Regions from separate parts of the Homo sapiens genome. Here region 2 is linked to region 1. The links are contacts of gene promoters, found by promoter capture Hi-C in human tissues and cell types (Jung and others, 2019). All regions are on one chromosome and are shown on one strand. Each heading gives the region's core, a stretch centred on a gene start or on the middle of the fragment in contact. The rest is flanking DNA. Distances are from core to core; before and after follow the strand shown. Region 1 holds the start of MAPK13 (mitogen-activated protein kinase 13). Region 2 overlaps FKBP5 (FKBP prolyl isomerase 5).

What was found. The method cuts DNA at HindIII sites, captures the fragments that hold promoters and counts their contacts. A contact is called where the count stands out against the background at its distance.
Region 2: a fragment that was not itself captured here is called in contact with the fragment with the promoter of MAPK13 in region 1 in 1 of the 25 tissues and cell types used here (IMR-90 fibroblasts).

The regions. Positions count from the first base shown.
Region 1 is chr6:36,127,681-36,133,075 of GRCh38, forward strand. It overlaps MAPK13 (mitogen-activated protein kinase 13), which reads left to right and starts at 2,833. Exons shown (of 12, transcript NM_002754.5): 1 at 2,833-3,021; 2 at 3,591-3,720; 3 at 4,941-4,999. The coding sequence starts at 2,903. RefSeq lists silencers at 2,729-2,978, 3,019-3,088, 3,729-3,838 and enhancers at 2,984-3,587, 3,479-3,598, 4,309-4,558. The HindIII fragment of the contact is 28,110 bases long and covers 1-5,395 here.
Region 2 is chr6:35,602,160-35,607,554 of GRCh38, forward strand. The region is part of intron 5 of FKBP5 (FKBP prolyl isomerase 5); the gene reads right to left. Among named protein-coding and RNA genes, the nearest start is that of MIR5690, 60 kb to the right of the region's middle. RefSeq lists a silencer at 213-507. The HindIII fragment of the contact is 9,658 bases long and covers 1-5,395 here.

The DNA of each region.
Region 1 (5,395 bases), core at 1,583-4,082:
GGGTCAGTGTCAGCAGAGTCGGAGGCCTGAGTCACTTCCTGACCCTTGCTCAAGAGCATCCGGAGCTACAGCCAGAGTGGCCACTCGTGCTCTCAGAAGATCGCACCCACTTGGGCGATGAGCATGTCCTTGGTATCCCCACCTTCCTGGGCTCACCTCTGCCCCACTCAGGTGTTTAAGACGTGCAGCAGAGAGGCGCCATCCTGACCTGGTGCCACATCCTAGCCCCTTTCCTTACTGGATCCTCAAACCAGAAGAAAACCTGAATCTCTGAGGTCAGTTACTCTCTTTTGCCTGCGTCTAGCCTAAAATCTGGCTTCCAGGACCCCACCCCAACTTCAGAATCAAGGTACCTTGCACTGGTGCCACTGATCCCAAAGGTCCAAAACTCCTGCAGCACTCACAGGCAAGCGACCCCGTTCCTTAGGCTCTCATGGGGTCTCAGGGCCAGAGTAGGGGGTGGGGGAGGGAAAAGGCTGGGGAAAATATCAGATACCCCAGGGCAGGATGGACTGAGGGAGACATGGTTGGATCAGTAGACATGTCCTTATGATGTGGGCAAGGCCATTTCCTTTGAGGAGCAATTCTGTCAACTCTAGGCCACCGCATAGCCTCGCAGCCAAGAGCAGGGACTCTAGAATCAGGCTGTACTTGCTTTCACCCAGCTCTGCCCTTACCAGCTGTGTTACCTTGGGCAAATTACTTAGCCTCTCTGTACCTCGGGTTCCTCATCTCTAAAATGAGGATAATCATATTACTGACTCACAGGCCTCTTACCAGGATTAAGTGAGTTATATAAAACACTTAATGACGGGCACATGGCAAACACAAGTGTGTATTAAATGACTCTTTTACATCTAATGGGCTGACTCCTCCATTCATTCTCCACACATTTGCTGTTATATTGCCATGTGCCAGAAATGAAAAAGACAGATTGCCTGACTGAAATAATGGCAGGTGTTGTTGTGTGATGATGGCACCCCACCCTCATCTCAGAATGATCTTCCAGGCTGTGCCTGAGGCTGCAGGACTGCCCGGGAGGGCTTGGGGCACAGAGTTTGGGGGCTGCAGACTCCCTAGTGTGGGCCCCCGGCTTGCTGTAAGCCCCTAGCAAATTTCTTTCCTTGTTCAATAGACCTTCTTTTTGACAAAGTGAAGCAGGTGGTCCCCGCCCCTTCCACAGCCCCATGCCTGGGCAAGAGAGGGGTTGGACAAGTCAGGCTGGGCATCCAGAGCCCTTGCAGCCATCTCCTCCCCCCACCTGCCCACCTTGCTCCTCAGAGGCCTTTGTGGTTTGAGCAAAGAATCTCCATCAGGCTGCACAGGCCACCAGACAGGTGGCAAGGGCCCCAATTAGTCATTGTCCTCATAGAGCCTTAGGAAGTCCACAGAAACTGTGTTCAAAACTGCACATTTGGGCCAGGTGCGGTGGCTCACTTCTGTAATCCAAACACTTTGGGAGGCTGAGGTGGGCGGACCACCTGAGGTCAGGAGTTGAAGACCAGCCTGGCCAACATGGTGAAACCCCGTCTCTACTAAAAATACAAAAATTAGCTAGGAGTGGTGGTGTGCACCTGTAGTCCCAGCTACTCAGGAGGCTGAGGCAAGAGAATTGCTTGAACCTGGGAGGCGGAGGTTGCAGTGAGCTGAGATGGCGCCACTGCACTCCAGCCTAGGCAATAGAGTGAGACTCCATGTCAAAAACAAACAAAAATCCTGCACATTTGAACCTGCGTGGATATTTGGTATTATAGAATTAGTGCTATTAATTTTAGGTTTAAGAATGTATTGTGGGCCAGGCGCGGTGGCTCACGCCTGTAATCCCAACACTTTCGGAGGCCGAGGCGGGTGGTTCACGAGGTCAGGAGTTCAAGACCAGCCTGGCCAAGATGGTGAAACCCCATCTCTATTAAAAATACAAAAATTAGCCGGGTTTGGTGGCAGGCACCTACAATCCTAGCTAATCGGGAGGCGGAGGCAGAGAATTGCTTGAACCCGGGAGGCGGAGGTTGCAGTGAGCCGAGATGGCAACTGCACTCCGACAGAGTCTCAAAAAATATATATATATAGTATTGTGGATACGTACTTTTAAAAATCCTTACGTTTTAGAGATACAAAAATATTTATGAATAAAATGATATGACGCCTGGGTTTTGCTTCAAAACGATGGTGGGAGAGGAATGTGGATGAAATAAAATTGATTATGAGTTGTGGTTGCTGGGGAATTGGGGTCACGGGGGTTCATTAGAACCTCCTATCAGATGTGGTTCAGAAGCCTCAGACCTGGGAGCTGGCTAGAAATGCAGAATCTCGGCTCCACCCCAAACCTACTGAGTCAGGATCTGTATTTTAATCAAATAAAATGCCCAGGGGATTCCTGAGCACACTGAAGTGTGAGAAGCGCTGGCTTACTCTGTTCAATTCTTTCCTGCATGTTTGACATTTTCCATAATGAAGAGGTTGTGGGGTTTTGTTCTGCTTTCCTGTGTGTTCACAGTCACAGGGAGCTCTTCCTACGGAGACCGGGGCTGGAGGGAACTGGGAAGCACTGCCTCCCCGCTCCTGCTTGGACCCACCAGCCCCGCCGCTGGCCCGCGCTCGGCTGGGAGGCACCGGGGTCCCGCTGGGCAGCCCCGACCCCGTGCCTGGGCCGCACCTGCCGCAGTGGCTCCGTCGGGCCGGGCGGAAGCGCGGGAGCGCAGGGCTGGACAGGCCCGGGCGTGGCGGCCCCGGCGCACCTGGGCGAGCCGGCAGGTGGGAGCGTAGCAGCCCGGGGCCCCCGCCCTCGCGCGGGGGAGGAGCGGGCGGCGCGGGGCGGGCGCAGCGGGGGTCGGGGCGCTGGGAGCCCGTTGGGCCGCGAACGCAGCCGCCACGCTGGGGCCGCCGAGATCGGGTGCCCGGGATGAGCCTCATCCGGAAAAAGGGCTTCTACAAGCAGGACGTCAACAAGACAGCCTGGGAGCTGCCCAAGACCTACGTGTCCCCGACGCACGTCGGCAGCGGGGCCTATGGCTCCGTGTGGTGAGACCCCTGGGCCGCTGGGGGGCGGGGGGCGGGCGCCAGGCTCTCCCCTTTCCGCCCAGCCCGCCCTGGGCTGGCCCCTCGCCAGCGCCACCTTGACCGCGGACCTCAAGGCCCAGCGCCCTCCCCGGGGCCACCCAGCGGCCATCTCCCTTTTCTCACCGAGTGGCTGAGTGAGGTCTCTGGGGGTTGAGTTGGGACTGGGCCTGGTTCTCCAGGACTGTACACTTGCAAGACCCCAGAGTTCATCGGGCAGATCCTCACTGTTACAGACGAGTACACCGAGGCCCCAAGAGGGGGAGGTGGCTCGCCAAGTTGCAGACAGAGTGAGACTCCCGCCCTGCCGTGGATCCCGTCGCAATGAGACGTTGCTGCCCCTGGCGCTGTGCCCCTCTCTCAGCTCCTGCCTGGCTTCCTACTCCCTGCCCTGCGTCCCGCGGCTCCCCCATATTCTAGGTGGTGGGCCTAGTCCCCTCTCAGCCCAGCTGCCCAGTGGGAGGGGTCAGGGCGGTCTGGGAGATACGGCCCAGGAGGAGAGCCTCGCCTGCTGACCGGCCTGTGCCCGACAGCTCGGCCATCGACAAGCGGTCAGGGGAGAAGGTGGCCATCAAGAAGCTGAGCCGACCCTTTCAGTCCGAGATCTTCGCCAAGCGCGCCTACCGGGAGCTGCTGCTGCTGAAGCACATGCAGCATGAGAACGTAGGTGGTGGCTGCCCCGGGGAGGGGGTGGGGGCTGCCCTGGGGAGTCAGGGGCAGGCGCAGGCGGGGCCTCCCGGTATGGAGAGCTCGGGACAGTCTCCTCCCTGCTCCCCTGACGGTGCCTCTCGCCTCACTATTGAAAGGAGGGGGTGCCGAGACCTTCCCTGCCCACTTTCCAGGAAGAGGTCAAAGGGTATTTTTGGCAGAATGCACTTTGTGAGGTACAGACTGTGTTATCCTACAGAGGAAATTGGCACAGGGGAACTTTGTAATTGGTTCCATGTCTGAGAGCTTGTGGCCAGCTGGGACTAGAATCCTAGTTAGCGTTGTGTCCACGTGACCCTGATAACAATAGCAATATACACATATTGAGCACTTCCTATGTTCTAAGAGCTCTGCATACACTAACTTGTCTAGTCCTCATGATATATGAGTACTACTGCCCCCATGTCACAGACAGGAAACTAAAGCACAGCAAGGCTCACAGATTAGATGGTTAGTCAGTAGCAGAGCTGGGGTTTCAATCTCGGCAGCGAGGCTCCCGGTCTGAGCACATGACCATCAGATTGTCTTGTCTGATAGAAGCAGCTGGGAAAACCAGGGGCCCAGCTCAGGGCCTGGCAGCCAGGCTTTGCTGCAGGATACCTAGATTGGAGGGCAGACATTTCAAAGAATGATTTCAAAATGTTATGTACATTTTAAGCCCATCCTTCTCCAGCAAACCCCTCCCCTATGGCCTCCAGCCAGGGTGATCTTGCCCTTGGCTCTGAACCAGCCCTGTGGCAGGCAAGGATGGATGTGGCTGGAGACCCAAGGTCAGGGGCAGGGAGTTTGCTGGCTGAAAAGCTCCTTCTCTGTTCCCTCCTTTTTCCCTTCCACCCTCCCCTTATGCTTTCCTGCTGCCTAGGTGAGTTGAGAGTGGGTTTGTGTTGCTTGCCCTGACACCAGACTTGACAGCAATGAGCACACATCATTCTCCCCACCTTCCCTTCTCCCCAGCCTGACTCTCTGTCATGATTTATTGCAAACTCCCTCCAAATCCAGGGGATTCCTCTAGGCCTCTGCCCTTTTTACTGCTTCCAAGAAGGTTGGAGACATGCCTCCTGCTGGAGGTGGTGTATTAGGAAAGGGTGGATGGCCCTGTGCATGGCCAGGGCCCAGGAGGAGGTGGGAGGAGAAGGTAGCGTCTGTCTAGCCCTCACAGGTGACTTCTTCCCCAGGTCATTGGGCTCCTGGATGTCTTCACCCCAGCCTCCTCCCTGCGCAACTTCTATGACTTGTGAGTTGGGCTGCACTGGGTTCTGGGGCATTTGCAGGCCTTACATGCCGCTGGGGAGCAAGGTGGGGGAGGGTCTAGGGTTTCTATTCCGGGTGTGGCGGGGAGAGCCTCCTTCCCTGGCAGTCCTGTGCCTTTGCCTGTCAAGTGTGATTCTCTCTGGAAAGATGCTTTTAGCCAAAGGCAGGCAGGAAGAGGCAGGAAGGACTTTGTGGGGTGCTTGCCTGGCAGGGGGCAGTCTGCACAGCTGCTTTGCTTTTTACCCAGCTTTAACACCATGAAGACACATCTGCCAGTCCTCACAGGGTTAGCACCAACTCACCTTTCCTGGGGACACAGATGTGAGTCTGGACCTTGGAGCTCTTTCTAGCATGAAGCAAGGATTAAGAAGCCTTGGCT
Region 2 (5,395 bases), core at 1,180-3,679, 530 kb before region 1:
GGAAAAAAGGAAAGAGAGTGCACAGCAGTAACAAAAATGAAATGCAAGAACCCCTAAACCATGCAATTTGTATTTTAGGAAGCAAAACTGAGAAAGAGGCTCCATAACTTAAAAAACAAAAAACAAAAAGCTGTAAATGCTCCAGCCTAAAGACATTAGCTCTGGTAAGTGTCTATTTTTCCCTTTTCTAATTATAGTAGTTGGTGTCTGATAGCTTTGCACTCATTCTCAAAACAATTACTGGGTCATGAGGATCTGAATGGGAATGTTGTAATGGCATTACTACTCGACAAGACTGGTTATCTGGCCAGAGAAAACCAGGTTGTGACAGGTTACTCCCACTGAGCAAGAGTTTTCTCTGTTGCCTAATTCATGCCAAGTGAGCTTCTTTCTGCCTGTGTCTCCTGCCTAATAGAGCACAGTATCCAAGAGAGTAGGATCTTAATAACCCCCTGAAAAAGCAAGCAGAGATGGCTTTCTAAAAGCAGGAGAACAAGAGAAATACTTCCAACACGCATGGTGGTCAGATTTCCCCTAAGCTGTCCGCCTTCCTCCTCTGCACTGTTTTGTACTACTTAGGATGAACACACACCACTGTAAGATTGCTTACAGAACTGACGGACAGATGCTAACAGGCGTGGAACCTGGCTCCTGGAACTGAATAACATTTATGCAAATGATTTCTTTTGGTTGATCAAGTTTGAATGTTTTCAAAACAGGAAATCTAAACAAGAAGTATACACCCAGCAACAAATTCTCCATGAACACCAACCCTTACCAGTCTTCCCTTCACACCACTATAGCACTTGAGTTAGACCTGGATTCCAGTCCCATTCTGCCACTTCAATTATGACTTTGGGCAAGGTAATTAAAGTGATCTGAAGCTCAGTTTCTTCACTGATAGAATGTGGATAATACACTAGCTAAATGATAATTGTTGAGAGGATTAAATTAGATACTGAATTAGAGCTTTTAATCTAGCACCTGATATTCATTCATTCATTCATTCATATGTCAGGGTGTCTATCATGTGAAAATGCTGTTGTTAAGTGTGGATATACAGAGACAAACTAAAGGAATGTTAGCTATAATTATTTTCCTGTGCCTAGTGGTAAATTATACCAGATTAAACATGTTTTAGAGCTCTGTGTAAGAAAACATTTACTGGTTCAACACAGAAAGCTGTCAAAGTATGAATAAAATTCTTAGTAGGCAAAGGCAGTATCTTGTACTTCTTTTGTGCCTCACAGTACCCAGCACAGAGTTCAGGGCCAGCAAGTAAATATTTATTTAATGACTAATCTTAAAATAGGGCATTAAGGACAGGGTGGTAATTTTCACTAATTTATACAAATTTTCCTTTTTGAATCTATTAGTATTCCTATTTTAATAAATTCTAGGAAGCTATACAAATTTTATATTGATATGGAAACTTTGTTTTTTAATACTATTCTAAAATAAATGGCCAATTGGCTGGAATTTTTTTTTTTTTTGTAACAACAACAACAGCAGCAGCAGCAACAAAAGACTGTTTTCTTTCTTTTTTTGAGACAGAGTCTCGTTCTGTTGCCCAGGCTGGAGTGTAGTGGCGTGATCTTGCCTCACTACAACCTTCACTTACTGCAACCATCTGCCTCCCGAGTTCAAGGACTTCTTGTGCCTCAGACTCCCAAGTAGCTGGGACTACAGGCCCGCACCACCATGCCCAGCTAATTTTTGTGTTTTTAGTAGAGATGGGGTTTCGCCATGTTGGCCAGGCTGGTCTTGAACTCCCGACCTCAAGTGATCCTCCAGCCTTGGCCTCCCAGAGTGCTGGGATTACAGGTGTGAGCCACCGTGCCCGGCCTCTTTATTGTTTTTGTTTTGAGTTGGGGGTCTCACTTTGTTGCCCAGCCTGGAGTGCAGTGGTGTGATCATGGCTCACTGCAGCCTCACACTCCTGGACTCAAGCTACTCTCCTTCCTCAGCCTCCCTAGTAGCTGGGACTACAGGCACACACCACCACGCCTGGCTATTTTGTTGTTGTTGTTGTTAAGAATGGGGTCTCACCATGTTGCCAGGCTGGTCTTGTACTCCTGGCCTCAAGCAACCCTCCCACCTTGGCTTCCCGAAGTGTTGGGATTACAAGCGTGAGCCACCATGGCTGGCCAGAAAGACTTATTTTCTACTATGATTTTATTCTACCTGAAGACTTGAAGATAACTTTTTGGAAGAAAGAAATTATATAAATCCAAAATATTTGAAAGAATAAACACTGGCCACTTTAGACCAAGTACCATATTACATTATTTTGTGAAAACATATAATAAAATGGTTTCAAGAATTTGCTCCTATTCCTAGACTTATATCCCAGGACATTCATAAATACTTCAAAAGCATATGAAAAACAAAAATGTAAAGTCTCACAGCTCCATCAGATCTCAATATGGGCAGACGTAATCTTTCCTCTATTTTCAATTTTTGGTACCTTTTTGATTTTAGTGTTTCATTTATAAAGAACACATAGCTAGATACTGTTGTTGTTCTCACTTTATGAGACCTTTTGCCTTTAATAGGTGACTTTATCCCATTCATATTTTTTGTAATCACTGATATGAGTGGTTTTATTCTTGTCTTTGGTTTTCTACACAGTGTTTTCTTTTTTTTTTTGAGATGGAGTCTCGCTCTGTTGCCCAGGCTGGAGTGCAGTGGTGTGATCTCGGCTCACTACAACCTCCACCTCCCGGGTTCACGCCATTCTCCTGCCTCCCAAGTAGCTGGGACTACAGGCGCCCGCCACCATGCCCAGCTAATTTTTTGTATTTTTAGTAGAGATGGGGTTTCACCATGTTAGCCAGGATGGTCTCGATTCCTGACCTCGTGATCCACGTGCCTCGGCCTCCCAAAGTGCTGGGATTACAGGCGTGAGCCACCGTGCCCGGCCCGTGTTTTCTTATTTTTTAAAACAATTTTTGCTCAATTGATGAAGTTTTCCTTGTTCCTCTATTTCCCCACTCCACATGGGGTGATTTGGAAATTCTACATGCTATTCTTACTAGTACTTTCCATTAAAGTCTGAACAAATCATTTAAAGATATATATATATACCTCTTTATCAATGTTCAGAATCAATCAGCATAAAGCATTCAATAAAATCCAACATCCCTTCATTATAAAAAACCCTCAATAAACTAAGCATCAAAGGAACATACTTCAAAATAATAAGAGCCACCTATGACAATATCTTTTTTTTTTTTTTTTTTTTTTTTTTTTTTGAGACAAGGTCTTATTCCATTGCCCAGGCTGGAGTGCAGTGGTGCAACCATAACTCACCGAAGCCTGTATCACCCAGGCTCAAGTGATCCTCCTGCATCAGCCTCCCAAGTAAGCTGGGACTACAGGTGCATGCCACTATGTGTGGCTAATTTTTTTTATTTTTAGTAGAGACAAGGTTTCACTATGCTGCCCAGGCTGGTCTTGAACTCCTAGGCTCATGCAATCCTCCTGCCTCGGCCTTCCAAAGTCTTGGGATTACAGGTGTGAACCACTGCACCCAGCCGTCAATATCATACTGAACGGGCAAAAGTTGGAAGCATTCCGCCTAAGAACTGGAAAAAAACAGGGTGTCCACTCTTAACAACTCCTATTCAGCATGGTACTGAGCCACAGCAATCAGTATGCGGCAAGTCCTAGCCTGAGCAATCAGGCAAGAGAAAGAAATAAAAGGCATCCAAATAGGAAACCAGACGTCTACCTCTCACCATATACAAAAACAAACTCAAGATGGATTAAAGGCTTAAATGTAAGGCCTGAAACTATATAAATCCTAGAAGAAAAGCTAGAAAATACTCTTCTGGACATTGCCTAGGCAAATAATTTATGATTAAGTCCCCAAAATCAAATGCAACAAAAAGAAAAACTGACAGTTGGGACCTAATTAAAGAGCTTCAGCACAGCAAAATAAGCTATCAACGAAGCAGATGGACAAACTACAGAATGGGAGAAAACATTTGCAAATTATGCATCTGACAAAGGACTAATATCCAGAAAAGAACTTAAACAAATCAACAAGAAAAAAGCAAATAGCCCCATTAAAAAGTAGGCAAAGGACACGAAGAAGCAGCCAACGAACATGAAAAAATGCCGAACATCACTAATCATCAGAGAAATGCAAATCAAAACCACAATGAGATACCATCTCACAACTGAGTCAGAATGACTATTAATAAAAAGTCAAGGCCGGGCGCTGTGACTCATGCCTTTAATCCCAGCACTTTGGGAGGCCGAGGCAGGCAGATCATGAGGTCAGGAGATCGAGACCATCCTGTCTAACACGGTGAAACCCCGTCTCCACTAAAAATATTTTAAAAAATTAGCCGGGCGTGGTGGTGGGCGCCTGTAGTCCCAGCTACTCGGGAGGCTGAGGCAGGAGAATGGCGTGAACCTGGGAGGCGGGAGTTGCAGTGAGCCAAGATCGCGCCACTGCACTCCAGCCTGGGCAACAGAATGAGACTCCGTCTCAAAAAAAAAAAAAAAAAAAAAAAAAAAAAAAAAAAAAGTCAAAAAAGAACAGATGTTGGCAAGGTTGTGGAGAAAAGGGAATGCTTAAACAGTGTTGATGAGAATGGAAATTAGTTCAGCTCCTGTGGAAAGCAGTTTTGGAAATTTCTCGAAGAACTAAAAATCAAAGTACCATTTGACCCAGCAATCCCATTACTGGGTATACAACCAAAGGAAAATAAATCGTTCTATCAGAAAGATAGCTGGCATTTACACTGACATGTTTACTGCAGCATTGTTTGTGTGTTTGTTTGTTTTTTGAGACAGAGTCTCACTCTGTTGCCCAGGCTGGACTGCAGTGGCAGAATCTCAGCTGACTACAACCTCCACCTCCCAGGTTCAAGCAATTCTGCCTCAGCCTCCCAAGTAGCTGGGACTACAGGCGCCCACCACCACACCCAGCTAATTTTTGTATTTTTAGTAGAGGCAGGGTTTCACCATGTTGGCCAGGCTGGTCTTGAACTCCTGACCTCAAATGATCCACCCACCTCAGCCTCCCAAAGTGCTAGGATTACAGGCATGTGCCACCACGCCCAGCCTGTTTTGTTTTGAGACAGGGTCTCGCTTTGTTGCCCAGGTTAGACTGCAGTGGTATAAATGTGACTCAAATGATCCTCCCACTACAGCCTCCTGAGTAGCCGGCACTACAGGCATGCACCACCATGCTTGGCCTTTTTTTTTTTTCTGTAGAAATGGGGTCTTACTATGTTGCCCAGTTTGGTCTTAAACTCCTGGGCTCAAGTGACCATCCCACCTTGGCCTCCCAAAGTGCTGGGATTACAGGCATGAGCCACACACAGCACTTACTCTTAAGCACAGTTATATTCTTAATAGCAAAGACACGGAGTCAACCTAG